Linked DNA regions of Homo sapiens: regions 1 and 2 are each linked to region 3. Evidence: promoter capture Hi-C in human tissues and cell types (Jung and others, 2019). All regions are on one chromosome and are shown on one strand. The core of a region is centred on a gene start or on the middle of the fragment in contact, and the rest is flanking DNA. Distances in the headings are between cores, read along the strand shown. Region 1 overlaps NEMP2-DT (NEMP2 divergent transcript). Region 2 overlaps MFSD6 (major facilitator superfamily domain containing 6). Region 3 holds the start of INPP1 (inositol polyphosphate-1-phosphatase).

Region 1 (3,989 bases), core at 566-3,065, 230 kb after region 3:
GTTTCACTATGTTGGCCAGGCTGGTCTCGAACTCCTGACCTTATGATCTGCCCGCCTCGCCCTCCCAAAGTGCTGGGATTACAGGTGTGAGCCACCGTGCCCAGCCGACTCTGTTTCTTTTTACAGGAGCTCCCAGAATGCCAGTTTCCCACCATCCCCAACAAGTGGTTCTTCCTCCCTCCCACTGCAGTCCCACTCCTAACTCTGCAAAGCTTTGCTCAATTATTTTTAATTCAAAGCTCAAATTCTAAAGTATCTGATATAATAGACTATTTTTTTCTAATTTTTTTTTTTACTTTGCTAAACTTAGAAATTCCTTGTAGTATAATACTAAAGGTTAAAAAAAAAGTGTGTTCTTTTTAAAGCTCTCATCTGTTCATGATCTGATTAGCCAGTTTGTGGCATTTTAAAAAAATCTTTTCCTCTCTTTCATTTTCTCTTTTGAGCCATTTCACAGCTTGTTAGTACTTCTGATAATATAAAGTAGTCAAATAGATGAGATTAAATTAAATTTGCTCTCACATACAACTCTGGGTTTTAAAGGATATTGCTTGAAGGAAAGGTAGGAGGCCGAGGCAGGCAGATCACTTGAGGTCAGGAGTTCAAGACCAGCCCGGCCAACATGGCGAAGCCTCGTCTCTACTAAAAAATACAAAAATTAGTTGGGCATGGTGGTGCACGCCTGTAATCCCAGCTACTTGGGAGGCTGAGGCAGGAGAGTCCCTTGAACCAGGGAGGCGGAGGTTGCAGTGAGCTGAGATTCTGTCACTGCACTTCAGCCTGGGTGACAAAGCAAGACTCCATCTCAACAAAAAAAAGAAAGAAAGAAAAAGAAAAAAAAAGAAATGAATGGTTAAAAAGAACATTACAGATCATCTGTGAATTTTAGTGACCTATATTCATGAGTACTGTGAAATGTTTCTGGTTTACTTTTTTTTTTTTTTGAGGCAGGGTCTCCCTCTGTCACCCAGGCTGGAATGCACAATCGTGGTTTACTGCAGCCTCAACCTCCTGGGCTCAAGTGATCTTAATACTTCAGCCTCCTGAGTAGCTGGGACCACAGGTGCACACCACCACACCTGGCTTATTTTAAAATTTTTTTTCTAGAGACAGGGTCTCGCTATGCTGCCCAAGCTAGTCTTGAATTTCTGGTCTCAAGCAATCCTTCTGCCTTAGCCTCCCAAAGTGCTGGGATTACAAAAGTGAGCCAGCATGCCCTGCCTGCATTACTTTTTGTAATGTTTATTGCCGTGGAAAATCACTGACAACTTGAATCAGGTTGTATTTGTTACTATGAGACTCTTAAATTATCTGAACCGTATGGTTGGAAACAATGATTTCTAGAACTAGCATCAGCTTTCAAGGTTTGTTGATGGAAGAGAGTACTTAAGCTAATAAATGTAACTTGTTAAATGAAACGGGAAACATCAAAATGCAGCTAAGCATTAAGAAAATGAAAGAGAAAAGTTTCCCTAGGAGAGAAGAAATTAATGAAATGTGTATCTTAATGTATCCCTGAAGATGGTATTTCTGCAACATACTGAATTGAGGGTGAATTTACTAGTTTATGGAGCGGGGTGGGGCGGGGGGGGATCTGGTTCTTTTCTCCACTTGTGCTGTGCTGACTTGTTTCGTATGTGTTTTGGATACATGTGGTGATAGCAACCTGTTAGTCTCTGGTAAAACCCAGTCCAAAGATATGTGAAGCCTGGACACGTGAGGCTGAATAAGGATGTCCTAGAGCCATGAAATACATTAACATTGTTGGGCAGTTATGGCAACGGAAAAACAGTGTTAATATAGGGAGTAAGTAGGCACTTTATAGGCAAAGAGGACATGCCTTTTCTGTATGCAACGAGCTTTGCAAATTCTAACTCCACCCTAATTATAACTGCCTTGTTCTCATGAAGTTCACTGTCAGCAACTGTTTATTCACCAGGTACAATATTATGCATAATACACTGGGCTGAGAACTGTGAGGGATACAATTTGGAAAGACAGGGCCCCTGGTCTTAAGATGCCATTGAAAAGCACAGACTGTGTTCGGGAATCAGTAAGTCCAGTGTGTAGATGACAGCGTTAGTGGGGAAAAATGGAATACAGAGTTGAAAGGTGTATTGGAGCCAGATTGTTAGGTTTTTGAATGCAAAATTTATATGTTAGGATGCTATTATTTGGAAAGTGGGGACTTACTCAATTTTTTTTAACATTAAAAGAAAATAATCAAATCTGTTTCTGGCTATTCACATTTTTTTGGTCCCATTGGTATCTTTTTTTAGATGGTACATTTTCAGTGAACAAAAACAGTATCTATTTCGCTTAATGTCCAGTGCAATGTCATAGATTATGTGTAATATTTAGGTTCACGTAAATAATGGCTGTTCTTAAAAATTCACATGTTCTTATTATGGAATGATTAAAGGACCCTCATTTTTCTTAATATTTATTTAGCTAAACTATCATCCTCCTCACCAAGGAATAACAAGAAAGCTGGGCAACTGTGGCAAATTATTTGCCCAAGAGGATCACTTTTAAACCCTAGTGAAGCTGGGAGCAGTGGCTCACACCTGTAATCCCAGCACTTTGGGAGGCTGAGGCGGGCAGATCACCTGAGGTCAGGAGTTCAAGACCGGCCTGGCCAACATAGTGAAACCCCACCTCTACTAAAAATACAAAAAGCCGGGTGTGATGGCGCATGCCTTTAGTCCCAGCTACTCAGGAGGCTGAGGCAGGAGAATCGCTTGAGCCTGGGAAGTGGAGGTTGCAGTGACCCGAGATTGCACCACTGCACTCCAGCCTGGGTGACAGAGTGAGACTCCATCTTAAAAACAAAAACAAAAACAAAAACAAAAAACTTAGTGAAGCTATCAGGTATTGGAGAGCATGGAAATGCTATAAACCAATACATTCTATATTTTATTGATACAGCATTTTTTCAATGTTTTGTCTACAGACAGATCCCAGGGGATTAACATATATTTAAATTACCTAACTTTCCAGTTGGACATAAACAATCTTATCCTTCTCTTTCATTGTCCTTTATATCTTCTGTGGGGTCTCCTGGGCTTGTGTAACTTGTCATAATGGACAGGATGTGAGGGATGCTACCACAGACAGACACCATATTGTAAATCTGAAGAATGGACAGAGGAAAACTTGCAACAGAATTAGAGGAAAGAAGAAATGATGGTGACTATTGCAAAGCCTGGAATGGTTCCCTTGGGAATTTAAGGAGGGAAAACAAGAGTTTCTGTAGTTTCCAGAAATAGAACTGCCTGCCAGCTTCCTTCCATCCTCCCTCTTAGCCTAGCTGCAGGAGAAGAACAGGCAGGCACATGCAGGCTGATGACTTTCCTGCTTGTGACAGCTCCAGATTACAAATGTGCAGAACAAGATTACAGTGCCAGCATTCCCAGGCCCAGGGAGCAAAGGCAGGTGGGCCGGGATGAGGTGAAGGAATATTAAAATAAAATAAAATAAGTACGGGTGATAATGAAAAGAAGAGGAAGTGTGGGGTAGTATATATGGTGTTAAGATGCTAGGAGAAGACTGAGGGCATGAGACAGAAAGCCCTGTACTGCCTGGGCGTGTATCTGAGAGATATGTGGGTGTGTTTGCAGAGGAAGTTGTGGGGGCATGTGTGTGTGCAGAATGTGTGTTAGGGAGGGGTTTTATTGGTATAGGAGTGGGAGGGTGTGTACAGCAGGGTGTGGAGTGCAGGGGTGGAGGGAAAAAAAAAGCGGAGGGAGGGAGGACTTTTATGGAGTGCCAGGAACACCCATTTCACAAAGGAAAATTGCCAGCTGCCAGCAAGTCAAATCTCCTTTGTGGGAACGGATCAGCTCCCCACAGTGGATTCTGGCCTCTGATCTGACCCCAGGATGTTTGCCAGATATTTGACCCCTGAAGGGAGGGACACAGTTTCTGGATTTTTACCACACCCTGATGCGTGCTCTTTCCCAGGGACTGATGTGTTTGCTTATATATTA
Region 2 (4,641 bases), core at 356-2,855, 140 kb after region 3:
AATATCTTTTGTCCCCTCTACTTTACAGGAATGTCGTTTTCGGTAGCACAATTCCTAAGACTTCCTAAATCTTGTCTTACAAATATGGGAAATGGCGGAGGGTTTTCAAGTTTCTAGGTTGCTTTTTTTGTTATTTTAAAACGAGAGAATCAGAACACAAATGTAGTAAAAACATTGGCAAGAGCTTCAGATTATTAAGATTACTAGAAAGTTGCATGTTCCAGTTTATGAACGAGAACTGCAGCTCCACCACTGTCTTTTGTATACACAGATGATGTTCTAATTTAATCCCTTCTTACGGATTGCTACATTTTGCTGGTTTCCTATCTAAGAAATGAGATGAATTTAATTGCTTCTTCACTTATACGATATCTTAAAATAAGTTATTTTAGGGAAATCAATTTTAATCCTGTATCTGCCCTGGAAAACATCAGAGCATACAAGCAGAGTGGCTTTCATTCTTCTGCTTTTAGTATCAGAAATTTTGTTTTTGTGCTTTACTATTTTTTCCTTCACTTAATTCCCTGAGTTAATTTAAAGAATGTAATTCCCAATTATCTAATCAGTCTCAAAAGCAATATAGAAACTAGAAGTCTAACTGTGGAGAATCTTTTACAACTACCACTTAATACTAGTCAGTAAATTCTAAGAATAGTTTAAAAGCATCCTGACTTAAGTCATCCCACTGGAAAATGCTTTAATTATCTTAGAACACTCAAAGTTTTAGAAAATGATTAGAATTTCTGAGAGGGGGAAAATAGATACAAACCCTGTGGTTGGAAGAGTTTGTGTGTGTCCAAGCCTTCACACTTAAAAGAATAACTGCTAGAATTGTTTTTTATCTAGAATTATAATAAATATATTTTAATGTTTTGGTTGCTTGTAAATCCTGCAATTGATTGCTTAGACATACACATAACAAGAGGTTTGGCGTCAGCATTAAAGTTAACCTACTACCATTTGATGTGTTTTCAGGTTTTCGGTAATTCATCTTTAAGAAATGATTTCCAAATCTGTGTTGGATTTTGCTATTGAATCTAATTAATTTTGAATAAATTAATTTATTTCTTGGAATATTTTTGAGTTTTTCCCCCAGTGTGGTTAATGAAAAAAAATCTGCATATGTGAAAAGAAATGGACTTAGCATCATCTTTAATAATAGAAATGAAAATACTTACAATTATTCCCATTAGGTACTATGGTGTCAACACTCATAATTAAGACTATCCAGGCATTATTCAATTCTGAGAAAGCTGGCATTATCTAGGGTATTGCAATTGTTTTGCCAGATAAAGCAAACACGTTATTTGACTTCTTAGGAAATTAACTGTGTATGCTACTGCTAATCATCTAGTCCATCTTACTAGTTAAAAAAAAAAAAAACCTAGTTAAAATGATGACTGAAACATATATAAAACCTAAGAAAGTTATTTTAATGTTTCTTAGTCAACTGTGAGGCATACAATCTAATGTACCCAGTAAAAACAGTGTTTATTCCATTATGGACTGACTTAAGTAATATCATCCCTGATAATTTTTTTATTATGCCAGATATTGTGAATGGTACCTGGTTGGGTGCTGGCTATTTCTGTCTTCCTATAAATATTCTTGAGCTTTGTTCTGGGTCACAGCTAAGTTACTTGGAAATAGTGTGATCCTTTGGGTCTTGCTTTTAAGATTATGTAGATGAGACCAGAGCAGTGTTTAGCCTACGGCTAATTATTTCATAATACTAACAAAAGACCTTGTTGAGTACTCTACCAATCCTAGGAATCATGAGTTGTTCCAGTTTGGCTGGTGGGAAGAAGTGTTCCCCGCCTTGTGTGGGTTCTGGGTATTGTTCTCTGAAATGGTTTTGGGTAGTTCATTCCCTCACTCTGAATAGTGTCTGCACATGTTTTGCTGATCAGTACTCTGCTGAATACGTTAGGGGAGCCCTCTATAGATCTCTGGAGTTTTCTCCCTATGATGCTATCTCCTCTCTGGCATTCTGCCCTGGAACTCTAGCCACCTTGGCTCCCTAGACTCTTGGCTAGAGTCTTCAACTTGGCAGTTCTCTTTTTTTGCCCTGCAGATTTCAGACTCTCATCAGTCAGTAAACTAAAGCTTTTCATTTGCTTCCCATCTCTCAGGGATCACTGTCCTTGTTGCTGATGTCCCTCAGGAACCACTGTCTCATATGTTTTGTCCGGTTTTTTAGTTACTTGAGGAAGGAGAATAAATTTAGTCCCTGTTATTCCATTCTGGCAGAGGCAGACTACTGTCAGATCAAATTTTAAAAGAATTTTGATCTTTTAGTTTAATTTTCCAAAATACGAGTTAAGAGTCTCTGATGATATTATCTCCAAATGAGACTATTTCTCAGGGGATGGAACCAGATGATTTCTTAATCTCGTCTAGCTATAAAACCTGTTGTGACAATATCTGGTTTTTACATTTAAAGCAGTGTCTTAATGAAGGTTTTAATTCAGACAATGCAGTTACTACATAATAAGATAATGACCATTTTTCCACCTGTTATCTCTGTCTTCCTCTCATTCCCATAAATGGTGAAGATATAAAACTGGTAATGGGACATGGTAAATTGTTTCTGCACTCATTTTTTTAACTGAACTATATATTAAGAAGCATGGCTGGGTGCAGTGGCTCACTAATCCCAGCACTTTGAGAGGCTGAGGCAGGTGGATCACGAGGTCAAGAGATCAAGACCATCCTGGCCAACGTGGTGAAACCCTGTCTCTACTAAAAATACAAAAATTAGCTGGGGGTGGTGGCGGGCACTTGTAGTCCCAGCTACTTGGGAGGCTGAAGCAGGAGGATCGCTTGAACCCAGGAAGCAGAGGTTGCAGTGAGCTGAGGTCGTGCCACTGCACTCCAGCCTGGTGACAGAGCAATACTCCATCTCAAACAAAACAAAACAAAACATAAAAATTGTTATATCCTTTGAATCATTAACCCCACTTGTGGAATTATAGCCAATGTAAATAATCTAAGGTATGTAAAAAGCAATGTTAACCATGATGCTAATTATAATGGGGAAAAGTAGAAATAATCTTAATGTCAAAGTAGGTGCCCTAGAATGGATGAATGTCCAGAATATATAAAGAGCTCCTACAACTCAATAACAAAAACCAACCCAATTAAAAAATGGGCAAAGGAATTGAATAAACATTTCTTCAAAGAAGATATAGATGGCCAATAAACACCTAAAAGGTGCTCGACATCACTAGCTATTAGGGGAAAGCAAATCAACAACATGAGAAACTGCTTCACATTCATTATGATTGCTATTTTAAAAAGATATATATAAGTTCTGGCAAGGAGGTGGAGAAATTGGATCTCTCATACAGTTCAGGTGGGAATGTAAAATGGTACAGCTACTTTGGAAAAAAGGTAGTTCCTCAAAGTGTTAAACATATAGTGACCATATCATCCAACAATTGCATTTCTAGTTACCTAGTCAAAATAATTTTTTTTTCTTTTTTGAGACAGAATCTTGCTCTGTTGCCAGGCTGGGGAGTGCAGTGGCGTGATCTTGGCTCACTGCAACCTCTGCCTCCTGGGTTCAAACGATTCCACTGCCTCAGCCTCCCGAGTAGCTGGGACTATAGGCGTGCACCACCACGCCAGGCTAATTTTTTGTATTTTAGTAGAGACAGGGTTTCACCATGTTGGCCAGGATGGTCTCAATCTCCTGACCTCGTGATCCACCCGCCTCGGCCTCCCAAAGTGCTGGGATTACAGGCGTGAGCCACTGCGCCCAGCCACTCAAAAGAATTTAAATCAAAGACTCAGATACTTGCATACCAGGTTGATAGCAGCATTAATCAAAGTAGCAGAAGGAAACAACAAATGTCTATTCACAGATGAAAAGATGAACAAAATGAATGGGAGTCACATTCAAGAGACAGGAAGTAGAATGGTGGTTGTCAGGGGATGGGACAAGGGGTGAGTGTAAGTTATGGTTTAAGGGGTACAGAATTTTTGTTGTGGTGGTGAAAAAGTTCTGGAGATGGATGGTGGTGACAGCTGCACAACACTGTGAGTGTACTCAGTGCCACTGAACCGTACATTTAAAAATGTGAAAATGGTAAATTTTTAATGTATGTTTTCCCACAACAAATCTTAAAAATAGGTGCCTAGTTAAATAATTCACATTTCAAAACAGAGTAGCCTAAGAAATGCTAACCAACTAATCCCTCCTGCTCTTCTTCCTCTCCAGGAGTGACACACGCGGCCATCTGGGCAGCATGCATTTCTTACCTCAGTGCAGCCGTTCCCCCTGAGCTGAGGACATCTGCTCAGGGCATCCTGCAGGGCCTTCACCTGGGTTTGGGAAGAGGATGTGGTGCCATGATCGGAGGCGTGTTAGTCAATTATTTTGGTAAGAATGGCTTTCTCCTTTTTTTTCTTTTCTATTATTAAAACATGATTTTTTCCAGCAATACCTCAATAAACAATCCAATTATTACTGAAGATTGCCCAAAGCTAAATTCCAGTATTCATAATCTCTTTCTAGATTTCATGGTAGTCATAATTGTAAAGCAGTGTGCTTACGTTGTTAAGCTGATCTGAGCCAGCCTGTAACTGTGCACACTCCTCTGACAATCAGCTTAATGAGATGCTACAGAGATCCCTCAA
Region 3 (4,630 bases), core at 870-3,369:
CCTGTTCAAATTTAGTGTCTGGGAAACATTTTAGAAGGATGAATAGGTAATATTATGTTAGTCCTGGAGTCAGATTGCTGGGTTCAAATTTAGCCTCACCAAATACTACATATTTCTGCAAATCACTTAAACTCTTTAAGTCTTAGTTTTCTTGTTTATAAAATGGAGATAACAGTAACATTTACCATAGGGTTGATGTAAGAATTAACAGTTATAAATCACAGAAAGTACTTAGCACAGTGTCATTAGCTATTATTATAGCAGCAAGAGAATACTCTCCCAGGCAAAAGCAATAACATGTATAAAGGTGCAAATGTATGAAATCTGTTTGCATATTCAGGGAACTAGATGTGGTGTAGTAAAATGAGGTGTAATATTCAAGGGGCAGAGTTGACAGATGCGAGGGGTGATGGGTCTTGAATGAGTTGTTCAGGAACTTGCTCTTGATATTATCAGAGATTGGGAGCCAATGAAAGCTTTTAAGCAAGCAAGAAACCCTGCAGATGTGTGGTAGCAAAGTGGAAAATGGACTAGATTCCGCCAGGTGCAGTGGCTCACGCCTGGAATCCTAGCACTTTGGGAGGCTGAGCTGGGCGGATCCCCTGAGGTCAGGAGTTCGAGACCAGCCTGGCCAACATGGTGAAACCTCGTCTCTACTAAAAATACAAAATTAGCTGGGCATAGTGGCAGTCACTTGTAATCCCAGTTACTAGGGAGGCTGAGGTGGGAGAATCGCTTGAACGAAGGAGGCAGAGGTTGCAGTGAGCCAAGATCATGCCACTGCACTCCAGCCTGGGCGACAGAGTGAGACTCTATCTTAAAAATAAAAAAAAAAGAAAAGAAAAGAAAAGAAAAATGGACTAGATTTATATCCCTTGCTCCACCCTGTCTTCCCCAAATTTAAATTCCTGCTTCCTAGAGGCAAATTCTTTCACCTTCTATGTCTCTGGTATTTATCTCCTTACTTTTAAGAATCATGTTTAAATTGTTTCTTGATTTTGCCATCATAGATATGATTATGAGGCTAATTAAACAGTAATCCTAACCGCTCTGAGAATGGACCTAAGAAATGAATGTGAGAAAGAAAGTAGAAGCAGCCCACTTGCTAGTGAGTGAAAGCCAGGGAAGGGTGGGGGGATGCGGGGAGAAATTGTCTCAAGTTGGAGAACCCAGGTGCAGGCTGGGAGCAGTACCATGAATTCCATTCAAGAAGCCAAACGTTTTAAGCACCATTTCCTGGAGTTTGCCAAGTTGAGTATTGACCCAGCCTCCTGTCTTGTTGGTTCCTCACTGCTGAAGAAGACCAAGTGTTGACAACTCAGTGAGGCAGTCTCAGCTGGAGTGGAAAAATGTAGCTAAGAAAACGTGCCAGACAAAGCTTTAAGCAGAGCTTCCCAACTGGATGCCGTGAAACGAATGACAGGGATGCAGATACAGCATGGGTCTTCCCAGCCCTCCAAGTGCAAGGGCTTCTGCAGGAAGCCTTCTGCAGGAGCAGCCTCTTCTGTTTACCCCCATTTTGACCCTTGTAATATCATCCTTTCCTACCTGTGCCAAGAAGTGAAAAGGTGTGTGAAGCGCCGCTTTAGAAGGCCCAGTACATTCACAAACATCAGCTTCTGGGCGAGGCTGCTTGGCCTCTTCTATTCAAAACTTTGTGTTGCCCTTTTAAGGTTTCTATTCCCCCCACCCCCACCCCGCCCACCAACACCCATTCCTACCTAGGTTCAACCCAAACCATCCTTAAGGTACACTGAGTATCACAGCACCAAAGGCTGGAGAGAGATAAGTTCCCCACCCTTGATGCGCTTCCTGTCCAGGTGGCCCGAGGCCCACTCCTTAAGAGGCAAGGCCCAGAGACACTGCTGTGTCTTGAGGAACATCCAGTACACCTGACATTTCCATTAGAACAGTGGGACCCGGATACCACTGGCAGGAAGTCCATCTTCACAGCTGCCAACCCATCTGTCAAACCCGCAGTCCCCTATGAGAGTACAGATGAATGGAGGAGGAAGATTTAAAAGTGAATTCGTGGGCGGCGACAAGGAAACAGCAGCCGTGGCCAAGCTGACCCCAGAGCCCTTCCCTTCCTGGCCCTCCCTCTGAATCATCGCGCTCCACTTGTGACGTCGCGGACGCCCGGCTCGGGCAGGCGTGGGGGGCCCGCGCGTCCCGGGAGCCCCGAGGCGGCAGCGCGCGTTTCCACGCCGCGGTCCCGCGGGAAAGCCGGGGGCGGCGGCCTGGCTGAGGCCAAGCTCGGATCCGGTGCCGAGCCAAGCGGGGCCGTGCGTCGCCGGGGCTTCGCCTTCGCTCGCGTGACCTCCGCCGTCCTCCCCAACCCTCGTCCTCTGGCCGCGCCTGCGGCCGCACGCCCAGCGCCCCTCGCCTAACCTCGCGCCCGGGCCGCGCCTCCTCCTCCTCCTGCTCCCCGCCGCTTCCGTTTCTCGAGGGAAAGGCTGCTGCCTCCTGCTCTGTCCTCATCCCCGGCTTAGGTAACACGTTTTCCTCCTTACGACACCCACCACAGGGTCCCCGCGCCGCTGCCCCTCCTCCTTGGATCTGGGGCCCGGGCTGGTGAGCGGCGCGCGCCGTCGCCTCTCCGCGGGTAGGTGAGTCGATGGCGCCGGGAGGGTTCCTCGCCTCTGCGCGCCGGCCTGCGAGGTCCCTGCCCCGGCAGCGAGGCCGCCCCCGGCCGGGCCCGGCCAGGCATGCCCGGCATCGCCGCTGCAGCCAGCGCGGAGGGGAGCTCGTGAGTCCCGCGGCGCCCTTGGCCCTGCCCGAGCGGCCCGATGGGGTTGGGGGGCGGGAAGAAAGGGTGGCAAACAACGATTTTAAAAATCCAGTCATTAGTATTTGTAGGACGAAGAAGCTGATCTGACAGTTGTCCAGAGCAGTGGCCCAGCTGCAACAGGTAGATGGCGCAGCTGTCAGTGACCCCTTGGTCTCAGCCTTGGCTTTGAGAGATGCATCTGAGTGTCCCTAGCTGCCAGCTACCTCCAGTGACCTACTTGATGAGTGTGAAATAAATATGATGGGACTATATTTAGAAAAATCTTTACTTCCTTGCTGTTAATTCTCTCTGCATTTTGAAAGGTGGTTTTGTGAGGTGTGCATAATTAGTTGGTGTGTCCAGAGTGGTAGCTGGAAAAAAATATTTAACCTGGGTTTGGCCCTATCATGTAGACGGTTAGGCGCAAAGAGTGTGAAAGGAAACGCTTACTTTAGTACATCTGTGAAAAACACTTATAAGAAACCACGGCTTGTTTTTTGGAGATTTCTCATTTTAAAGGTATTTTTAAAGTGTTGAATAAGCAGAAGTTTGCCCACTGTATGATGGTGTTCACTTCAAAAGAACAGTGGGTTAAAAGTATGGACAGACCACTTAAGTGGATCCCATCTGTTGAGTAAAAGATTTTTTAGCCCTTTTACACTGATTCCTAGCTTTGAAGCCAGAAAAGTTGATAAGGATCAGCCCTGCTCAACTTGATAATAGTATAAGGATGAAAGTAATCCACTGAACTACTCTTGATTGGTGAATTAGCTAAGTGATCTCATTCTTACCTTTTAAAATAGAGAACATAAGGGAAAAAATAAAGGCAATGGAAGAATTCATTTTTTCAATACAGATATTTGTTTCCATTCTTATGTAGAGCCTACTTTATTTTTAAGTTTTTATGGATTTTTATACTACTTTTGAAGTCAGCTTAGTCATGAAGAGAATTATGTCAAATACATAGAGTTACACTGTACTTTTTGTGTAGAATAAGCTACCACTTTTCAAGCTTTTGGACTAAACCACCGCTTGCTTGGAAATTGCAGCTTTGACTAATGCCCTTTAAAATGATATACCTTATTATAGATTTAAATTATAGCTTTCCTTGTTATAGTCCTGAAAAAAATGAAAAGATAATTTCTTGTTTGACATAGAAGGCCTGTGAGACAAAAGTTATAAAGGTTATTATATATTTATTTTGCTTTTTAATTCTGTCTCTAATAACAGTTAGAAAATGTCTCATTCTATTTCATGTTATACAGAAATTGCTTAAAAGATAATTATGTTATATAAAGTGATCAATGAAAACAAACGTCATCTTCATTTTTTAAAGGTGAGGATGGTGTATATAAGCACTTTTTCCCGATGTGAGTCCTTATGAATGTTCTTGTTAAAATACTTTGAATCTTGTAATGAAGTTAATAAAACTATGTTAATGTGTTTGGCTGAGAGCTTAGAAATAAAGGCTCTGGCTGGCGTGGTGGCTCACGCCTGTTATCCCTGCACTTTGGGAGGCCAAGGCAGGTGGATCACTTGAGGTTAGGAGTTCGAGACCAGCCTGGCCAACATGGTGAAACCCCGTCTCTAGTAAAAATACAAAAATTAGCCAGGCGTGGTAGCAAGCACCTGTAGTCCCAGCTATTCAGGAGGCTGAGGCTGGAGGATCCCTGGAACCTAGGAATCAGAGGTTGCAGTGAGCCCAGATCGCGCCACTGCACTCCAGCCTGGGCGACAAAGCAAGACTTCATCTCAAAAAATAAAAATTAAGTTAAAATTAAAAAAATAAAAGTTCTGCTTCCCGTCTCCTGTGATTGATGTTGGGTACTGTTTCTCAAACTTGTCTGATTGTAAAATTCC

Evidence for each region. Contacts are between HindIII fragments. The study calls those that stand out against the background at their distance.
Region 1: a fragment that was not itself captured here is called in contact with the fragment with the promoter of INPP1 in region 3 in 1 of the 25 tissues and cell types used here (hippocampus).
Region 2: a fragment that was not itself captured here is called in contact with the fragment with the promoter of INPP1 in region 3 in 2 of the 25 tissues and cell types used here (adrenal gland and hippocampus).

Annotation. Positions count from the first base shown.
Region 1 is chr2:190,575,049-190,579,037 of GRCh38, forward strand. The region is part of intron 4 of NEMP2-DT (NEMP2 divergent transcript); the gene reads left to right. It also overlaps a transcript of NEMP2 not described here. Among named protein-coding and RNA genes, the nearest start is that of NEMP2-DT, 42 kb to the left of the region's middle. The HindIII fragment of the contact is 4,491 bases long and covers 1-3,989 here.
Region 2 is chr2:190,484,435-190,489,075 of GRCh38, forward strand. MFSD6 (major facilitator superfamily domain containing 6) reads left to right here. Exons shown (of 8, transcript NM_017694.4): 5 at 4,223-4,384. It also overlaps a transcript of NEMP2 not described here. Among named protein-coding and RNA genes, the nearest start is that of NEMP2, 48 kb to the right of the region's middle. The HindIII fragment of the contact is 7,162 bases long and covers 1-4,641 here.
Region 3 is chr2:190,341,470-190,346,099 of GRCh38, forward strand. INPP1 (inositol polyphosphate-1-phosphatase) reads left to right here and starts at 2,120. Exons shown (of 7, transcript NM_001128928.2): 1 at 2,120-2,492. LOC124906109 (serine/arginine repetitive matrix protein 1) reads right to left here and starts at 3,580. Exons shown (of 1, transcript XM_047446773.1): 1 at 1-3,580. The coding sequence starts at 2,847. The coding sequence ends at 1,969. RefSeq lists silencers at 2,106-2,415, 2,486-2,815. The HindIII fragment of the contact is 3,445 bases long and covers 928-4,372 here.